3 separate regions of the Homo sapiens genome follow, and all the other regions are linked to region 2. The links are contacts of gene promoters, found by promoter capture Hi-C in human tissues and cell types (Jung and others, 2019). All regions are on one chromosome and are shown on one strand. Each heading gives the region's core, a stretch centred on a gene start or on the middle of the fragment in contact. The rest is flanking DNA. Distances are from core to core; before and after follow the strand shown. Region 1 has its middle 78 kb from the start of SST. Region 2 holds the start of SST (somatostatin). Region 3 has its middle 100 kb from the start of SST.

Evidence for each region. The method cuts DNA at HindIII sites, captures the fragments that hold promoters and counts their contacts. A contact is called where the count stands out against the background at its distance.
Region 1: a contact is called between a fragment that was not itself captured here and the fragment with the promoter of SST in region 2, in 4 of the 25 tissues and cell types used here (liver, mesendoderm cells, stomach and 1 more).
Region 3: a fragment that was not itself captured here is called in contact with the fragment with the promoter of SST in region 2 in 2 of the 25 tissues and cell types used here (H1 embryonic stem cells and neural progenitor cells).

The regions. Positions count from the first base shown.
Region 1 is chr3:187,590,828-187,593,527 of GRCh38, reverse strand. No RefSeq gene overlaps it. Among named protein-coding and RNA genes, the nearest start is that of SST, 78 kb to the left of the region's middle. The HindIII fragment of the contact is 3,762 bases long and covers 1-2,700 here.
Region 2 is chr3:187,669,001-187,671,700 of GRCh38, reverse strand. SST (somatostatin) reads left to right here and starts at 1,307. Exons shown (of 2, transcript NM_001048.4): 1 at 1,307-1,547; 2 at 2,424-2,700. The coding sequence starts at 1,410. The coding sequence ends at 2,636. The HindIII fragment of the contact is 6,645 bases long and covers 1-2,700 here.
Region 3 is chr3:187,567,401-187,570,100 of GRCh38, reverse strand. No RefSeq gene overlaps it. Among named protein-coding and RNA genes, the nearest start is that of SST, 100 kb to the left of the region's middle. RefSeq lists enhancers at 692-1,674, 1,675-2,658. The HindIII fragment of the contact is 3,547 bases long and covers 1-2,700 here.

The DNA of each region.
Region 1 (2,700 bases), core at 159-2,658, 78 kb after region 2:
TGCACACTGGGAGGACTGTGCATTTGGGTGGAGCCTCGGGAAGCTCATGCCGGTTGCAGTAGGCAGGAGCCTGGCCCCTCCTCTTCCTGGGTGGAAGCTGGGATTCAATCTGATGTGAGAGCATGTTTACAGGAACCTATCTCGTGTTGCTGAGTTTTTTTCCTTTTCGCCCAATAAATTCCATTTTTCTCACCCTTCAAAGAGTCTGCGAGCCTAATATTTCATGGTCATGTGGCAAGGACCCAATTTTTAGCTAAACTAAGGAGAAAGTCTTACAACATTATGATGGAAATTAAGCTGGAGCCATCAGAAAGTCTGTCCAGCACAGAGAATGATGGTATTCCTTCGTTTAAGAGTTCAAAATCTCTGCAGCTCAAAAATCACCTATCTAGCATAACTAAACACACACACACACGTTATTTTATCTTCCTGATTACAATCATGACAACCTAAATTGATTGAGCATTTACTATATGCCACAGAAGTTTAGCTCCTCATATGCTTTATTAAATTTAATCCTTCTCACTGTCCTATTGAAAGTTTATATTATTATGTATTTCATAGATAATTATGAATATTATAAATTAAGTAACCAATAATATTCAGATATTACTAAACATCATAGGCATGTAGTGAGGGAGCCAGGATTTCAATCCAAGTGTGTTTAATACCGGGATCCTAAATACTCTGCTTTTCTGCCTCTTTTCTTCATGAAGCTTAGTACATTGGAAATGCCAAAAATAACCTGGTTTGCGCCCAGAATAACTCAATGAGAATTGGAGGGGTGCTGAAGATAAACTAAAATAATATTATGATTTCTCTGTCATGAATAAGAGACAGCTATGCTCCATTTTGCCCAAGGAAGTAAAATTATCTTATTAATGAGAGAAGCAGAAATTCACAGCCCCAGAGGAGGAAACCTTCCCAGTTTTTGTGGTTCTCCATCAGTTTTAGATGGAGGGGGCTTCTAGATGTCAACCTAATTTATGGCTGCGTCCTTGAAGTTCTTGTGCAGGAGTTGAGGTTGGGGAAGAGAGTAGGGAAAAGAGGGTCAAGTCTGCTCTCCCGAGGAAGAACTTGTTTAACTTCAGAACCTTTGGGAGTTTGAATAATTAAAGGTGTGTGTGTGAGTGTGTTGTTTCCTGTGGAAGATTTTCTGGCCATGACTTCCGGTCATCACAGCTGCTTTAGCACATGCTCAAGGAGGAGTCACTTCAAGTCTGATTCAATTTTAAAATACTAAAAGAGAAAAGAGAAAACAGAAAAGCTCTCCTGCAACTCCTCAAGACAATAAGAAAAACAAACACAGAATTCCCTATGTCAGAAAAGGAGCTCTAGAGGCTCTTTTATCAGTTTGATGTTTGCAGCCACCCTGAGATGATGTTGCAAACTTTGGATTTTTCAAACAATTGATGATTTGCATTCCAAGAGAAGCTTTTCATTTTCTCTACTTTTCTAAAGGTCATGTTATACAAGGGATTCTTGAAGCTGCTTGAGTCATTTGATTCCACAGAGACTCAGGAGCACTGTGGAAATAGCCTCAACTAAGGAATCTGGATATCTTCAAAAGTTTTCAAAGCAGGGCCCTGGAAAGCATGAGAGTTTTAAATGTTGCCTTAAAACTAGTCTGGATTTCCCTTAAAAATACTGGAAAATATTGAAAAATATTTCCTCCTAGCACTTTGGAAGGCCAAGGCAGGAGGATCACGTGAGCCCAATAGTTCAAGACCAGCCTGGCAACATAGTGAGATCCTATCTCTATTAAAAACAATTTTGAATTGATTACAGACATGCCCTTGTCCCAAGGACAAAGGAGCACAGGAGAGGCATCCACAGCAAGAGATGCCAACATATTTTGAAAAGTCTGAAAGTGGGGTAAAGACCATGCCAACACAAGGACCCCAAAAGTGGGGTGCTATGAGAAGTGAGCTGATGTGACCCACAGAACCCTTACGAATCTCAGCTGTGGCAGAAAGAGCAGGGAGAGGGTGCTGGGAGCAAAAGCAGGGAGATTAGCTGGAAGCCTGAAAAAGAATCGTGAGCACTCCGGTTCCCTTTCTTACTACAGACTACTAGGGAGTTAGCCGTGCCTCACAACACTGGAGACCTGAGGCTTGCTCTCTTGGAAAACAGAATCATTTCATTCCTGAGTTGGGGCACCACACATAGTGCAAGGCTGATGTCTAATATATGGCCTAAAACACGGGGAAGGGGAAGGGAAAGATTTGCATACTGAACCAAGGAAGTCTCATTTCACTTTCTAACCGCATCCCACCCGCCCCCTGCCCCTCCCCCTGGGCCTTGGTAGCTGGAGCTCTGGCCACAGGGCAGAATGTGTTTTTCTATGGGGAAACCAAAGGAATTCATTTAAAAAGACTTGTAGATTTTATATAAAGTGCCAAACAAAAGCTAACCAGATGCCTGAGAACTCCACAGAAAAGATAGAGAGTCGGCATGTCCCATCCACAGTCACAAAGAAGTATGAACGTATGAATGGGTTGCCAAGGATACCAGGCATCTGAAAAGCCTTCAAACATGAGTGTAAAAGAGATGATTACAACAAACAAACAATAATAATAATGAATTCAGAGGACACAGAGACAATGCAGGGCAGAAGAAAATTAAAATATAATAACTTACAATTAACATCCCCGGAGAGATAAGAGCTGAAACAAGAATAGGAAGCATAAAAACCAGAAG
Region 2 (2,700 bases), core at 58-2,557:
TCTTTTTAGCTAATATTGGCTTTTTTGAAGCTCATAAGATAACAGCTCTTAAAGATCCTGTAGGGATCATCTCGTCCATGCTAGGAAATTAGCTGGTCCTTCCTCAGTAAGGAACTATTTAGATAAAAGCAGTCAGAACTCTGGCCTGAACAGTAAACATTTAACCAGAGTTCAATCAGAATTCAAGGACAGGTTTTCTTAAACTTTCTTTGTTTCTAGGAGATCAGGCAGAGCTGAATTTAACCAAGAATCTTTTGATCCTTTCCACATATAGATATACAATAGTGGTCACATATGTTCTGGGAGTTCCTAGACCTTATATGTCTAAACTGGGGCTTCCTGACATAAAACTATGCTTACCGGCCAGGAATCTGTTAGAAAACTCAGAGCTCAGTAGAAGGAACACTGGCTTTGGAATGTGGAGGTCTGGTTTTGCTCAAAGTGTGCAGTATGTGAAGGAGAACAATTTACTGACCATTACTCTGCCTTACTGATTCAAATTCTGAGGTTTATTGAATAATTTCTTAGATTGCCTTCCAGCTCTAAATTTCTCAGCACCAAAATGAAGTCCATTTCAATCTCTCTCTCTCTCTTTCCCTCCCGTACATATACACACACTCATACATATATATGGTCACAATAGAAAGGCAGGTAGATCAGAAGTCTCAGTTGCTGAGAAAGAGGGAGGGAGGGTGAGCCAGAGGTACCTTCTCCCCCATTGTAGAGAAAAGTGAAGTTCTTTTAGAGCCCCGTTACATCTTCAAGGCTTTTTATGAGATAATGGAGGAAATAAAGAGGGCTCAGTCCTTCTACTGTCCATATTTCATTCTCAAATCTGTTATTAGAGGAATGATTCTGATCTCCACCTACCATACACATGCCCTGTTGCTTGTTGGGCCTTCCTAAAATGTTAGAGTATGATGACAGATGGAGTTGTCTGGGTACATTTGTGTGCATTTAAGGGTGATAGTGTATTTGCTCTTTAAGAGCTGAGTGTTTGAGCCTCTGTTTGTGTGTAATTGAGTGTGCATGTGTGGGAGTGAAATTGTGGAATGTGTATGCTCATAGCACTGAGTGAAAATAAAAGATTGTATAAATCGTGGGGCATGTGGAATTGTGTGTGCCTGTGCGTGTGCAGTATTTTTTTTTTTTTAAGTAAGCCACTTTAGATCTTGTCACCTCCCCTGTCTTCTGTGATTGATTTTGCGAGGCTAATGGTGCGTAAAAGGGCTGGTGAGATCTGGGGGCGCCTCCTAGCCTGACGTCAGAGAGAGAGTTTAAAACAGAGGGAGACGGTTGAGAGCACACAAGCCGCTTTAGGAGCGAGGTTCGGAGCCATCGCTGCTGCCTGCTGATCCGCGCCTAGAGTTTGACCAGCCACTCTCCAGCTCGGCTTTCGCGGCGCCGAGATGCTGTCCTGCCGCCTCCAGTGCGCGCTGGCTGCGCTGTCCATCGTCCTGGCCCTGGGCTGTGTCACCGGCGCTCCCTCGGACCCCAGACTCCGTCAGTTTCTGCAGAAGTCCCTGGCTGCTGCCGCGGGGAAGCAGGTAAGGAGACTCCCTCGACGTCTCCCGGATTCTCCAGCCCTCCCTAAGCCTTGCTCCTGCCCCATTGGTTTGGACGTAAGGGATGCTCAGTCCTTCTAAAGAGTTTTGGTGCTTTTCTGGGTCCCTCAGCTCCCGAAGCTCTTGAGAAAACTATCAAAGGCTAGAATCCCCTTCTAACTCTTTTTTTCCCCCATGATAAGCGCAGTCGGTCACAGTTCAGGTGAGTTCTTACTTGGCATTCAAGAAAATTACAAAATCTGGGTAGTTGTCTGGGCACGAAGCGACAATGGCGTCTATCCCTGGTGCTGACCCTGGGAAGCGCTGACCCAGGTGCTGAAACGCAGACCTCTGAAGCTGCTACCTCTTAGCGTACCTCACTTCCAAACGTCGGGACTAGGGCAAAGGGGCAATCTAAAGACCGAACGCCGTATGTTTGAGATTGTGAGAAGTCTCGTTCCCCTACAGTTTACTTGGTAAAAATGGTAAAACAATTCTACTTTGTAGCTCGTGATGTGAAAATTGAATTAAACTGTTGGCACACACTTTATCTTACCAGAACGGTCTTTATGTGTGTGTGTGTGTGTGTGTGTGTGTTTGTGCGTGTGTGTGTGTGTGTGTGTGTGTTAAGTCTACAGGGACAGAAAGGTTGCAGAAACATTTGAGCTCTTAAAGCCTTTTTGTGTAACTTGGTAATTATAGCAACTATCCTTATTTTTATATCCTTGATTGATTTTAAATGTGACAAAAAATGCGCAGCTGTAAAAACTGGATTTTGTGTGTGACCAAATCTGTTCTTTAATTTAGGCTTTTCAAATTTTTTCCATTGTCCTCCCCACTTCTCTTTCTCTCTTTTTCTATCCCTTCTGCCCTATACAGGAACTGGCCAAGTACTTCTTGGCAGAGCTGCTGTCTGAACCCAACCAGACGGAGAATGATGCCCTGGAACCTGAAGATCTGTCCCAGGCTGCTGAGCAGGATGAAATGAGGCTTGAGCTGCAGAGATCTGCTAACTCAAACCCGGCTATGGCACCCCGAGAACGCAAAGCTGGCTGCAAGAATTTCTTCTGGAAGACTTTCACATCCTGTTAGCTTTCTTAACTAGTATTGTCCATATCAGACCTCTGATCCCTCGCCCCCACACCCCATCTCTCTT
Region 3 (2,700 bases), core at 109-2,608, 100 kb after region 2:
GTTATGGCAACAAATAAATGTTAATGTTCCCCAAGAGTACAGCTAACCTTTTCATTATCTAGTTAACTTTTCACAACCCCTATCTGGCACCATTTCCTAGTATTTGGAGACTGATGGGATACAGACCTGGCAATATTCCTTATTCCTTTTCAGGTTAAAATCCCTTCCAGGAGTGCTTCACAGTCAGGTGCTTTTATTAATTCAGTCATTTTCTCTCAGCCAGCAGTTTCTTGACAAGCCCATAGGCTGTGGCTTGACCCTTACTGAACCTACACCGTGGACATCAGTGGGGTTCCGTGTGTCCTAATGTAGCCTGAAGGTACAACTTGCAGTATTAAGTGTGGGATGGAGTGAGGTCAGGGACAGATCTGTCACTTACTCAGTGGTCCTGAGCCTTGATGATTTTACCCATCTTATAAATGAGAATAACAATCTTAGCTTTGCCTACCTCCCAGGGTAAAATGGATTTAAGAGACATTGATTGTTATGGGTTGAATTGTGTCTCCTCCAAAATTCCTGTGTCAAATATCTACTCCCAATAGCTCAGCATGTGACCTATGAATTGCAACAATTCAGTCACATCTTCACGCTCTGTCATGCAGGCTGGAGTGCAGTGGTGGGATCTCGGCTCACTGCAACCTCTGCCCCCCGGGTTCACGCCATTCTCCTGCCTCAGCCTCCTGAGTAACCGGGACTACAGGCATCCGCCACCACACCCGGCTAATTTTTTTGTATTTTTTTTTAGCGGAGACGGGGTTTCACCATGTTAGCCAGGACGGTCTCGATCTCCTGACCTCGTGATCCGCCCACCCCAGCCTCCCAAAGTGCTGGGATTACAGGCGTGAGCCACCACCCCTGGCCCCTTCAATAGCTTTTTATTTGTATTCAGAATTTGGCTAGAGGCCAATTTGACACAAGAGGCTTAGCTTTCAGCTTATCTTGGCTTTTGACATGCTTTCTTCACTAAGCTTAGTCATTTCTAACTTTTGATTTAAAGTGAGAGATGTGTGACTCTTCCTTTCACTTGAACACCTGGAGGCCATTGTAGGGTTGTTAATTGATCTAATTGTCTCAAGTTACAGGGAAATCCAAGGAGAGGGAGAGAGACATGGGAATGGCCAATTCATAGAGCAGTCAAAACACGCACATTTATCTATTAAGTTTGCCATCTTATATGGTGTGGTTTGTGATACTCCAAACAGTTGTAATATTAACTTCAAGGATCACTGATCACAGATCACCATAACAGATATGATAATAATGAAAAAGTTTGAAGTATTGCAAGAATTACCAAAATGTGACACAGAGACATGAAGGAAGCACATGCTGTTGGAAAACTGGCACCAGTGGACTTACTTGGTGAATGCAAGGTTGCCACAATCCTTCAATTTGTAAAAAACTCAGTATTTGTCAAGTGCAATAAAGCAAAGTCAACAAAACAATGTATGCCTGTATGTATTTTGCATTTGCTGGAAACCACATAAAATACTTTACTGATTTTGTGAAGTGAACAAAATGTCTCCATCAGCCAAAGGGGTAATCCTTGATTCATTCTTCCTCCTGAGATTTAGCACATAGAGCCCAGGAGCAGAAGCCAAGGGTGGCCTGCCTGGTTGGCCGCCCTGTGCCACCAGTCCACTTCCGGCTGAAGCCTTGGCCTGCCCCATGTTGGCTCCAACCCAGCTCCCACCAGTCGCTCATGCCAAAGGAAAAAATTCAACATATGCTTTTTTGACTCCTGATTCACCACCCTCTCCACCACAGGCATGGATCTCAGACTCTTCTTTAACACGCTGAAACTGAGTTTATTTAGCTTGTCTCATCTCTCTTTGAAAAACAATTGCTGCATATTCTGAGCTGCCTTCTCAGTCCCATGCTTCTCTGTTATGGATGACAATCCTACTTCTCCCAGACTTTGCCAATCATTTTAAAGAAGCTTTTCAAATGCTGTGAGCAGCTGTGTGTGTGTGTGTGCACATGTGTGTGTATAATGTCAGTGTGTTGGGCTCCCTCACCAGAGAGTCAGCTCCAAAATGTCAGAACCCCAGGTCTCTCTTGCTCAATCAGTACCTAGCGCATGATTGGGCTACAACATGATTACTGAATGCATAAATGAATGACTTTTATGTGAGAAAGGTGGTATGATCTAACTTTAAGAATTTAAGACCGTCAAAACCTGTGGTTTAATTATTACATCCAGAAATAACATTTACTAGCTGTGTACAAGTGAACAAATCACCACTCAGAAGAGCCTCAGCATTGGAATCTGTGGAATGTAGATAATGCTAACTTCTCTGCTTAGCTAAAAGAAATTGGGAAGTTCAAATGAGGTAAAGAATGGTGTGGTTGTTTTATGCACCAACTTGGCTAGGTTGTTGTACTCAGTTATTTAATCAAATACAAACTTAAGTTGTTGCTGTGAAGGTATTGTGTAGACATAGATAACATATACCATTAGTTGACTCTAAGTAGAAGAGATTATACTCTCCAACTGGATGGATCTTATCTAATCAGTTGAAAGGTTTTAGGAGCAAAAAACCGAATTTTCCCACAGAAGAAGAAATTCTCCCTCAAGACTGCAGCAGCCAGTCCTGCCTGAATTTCCACCCTGCTAGCCTGCCTTACAAATTTTAAACTTGCCAGTCCTCACAATTACATCAGCTAGTTCCTTGAAATAACTCATACATATATGATTATAAA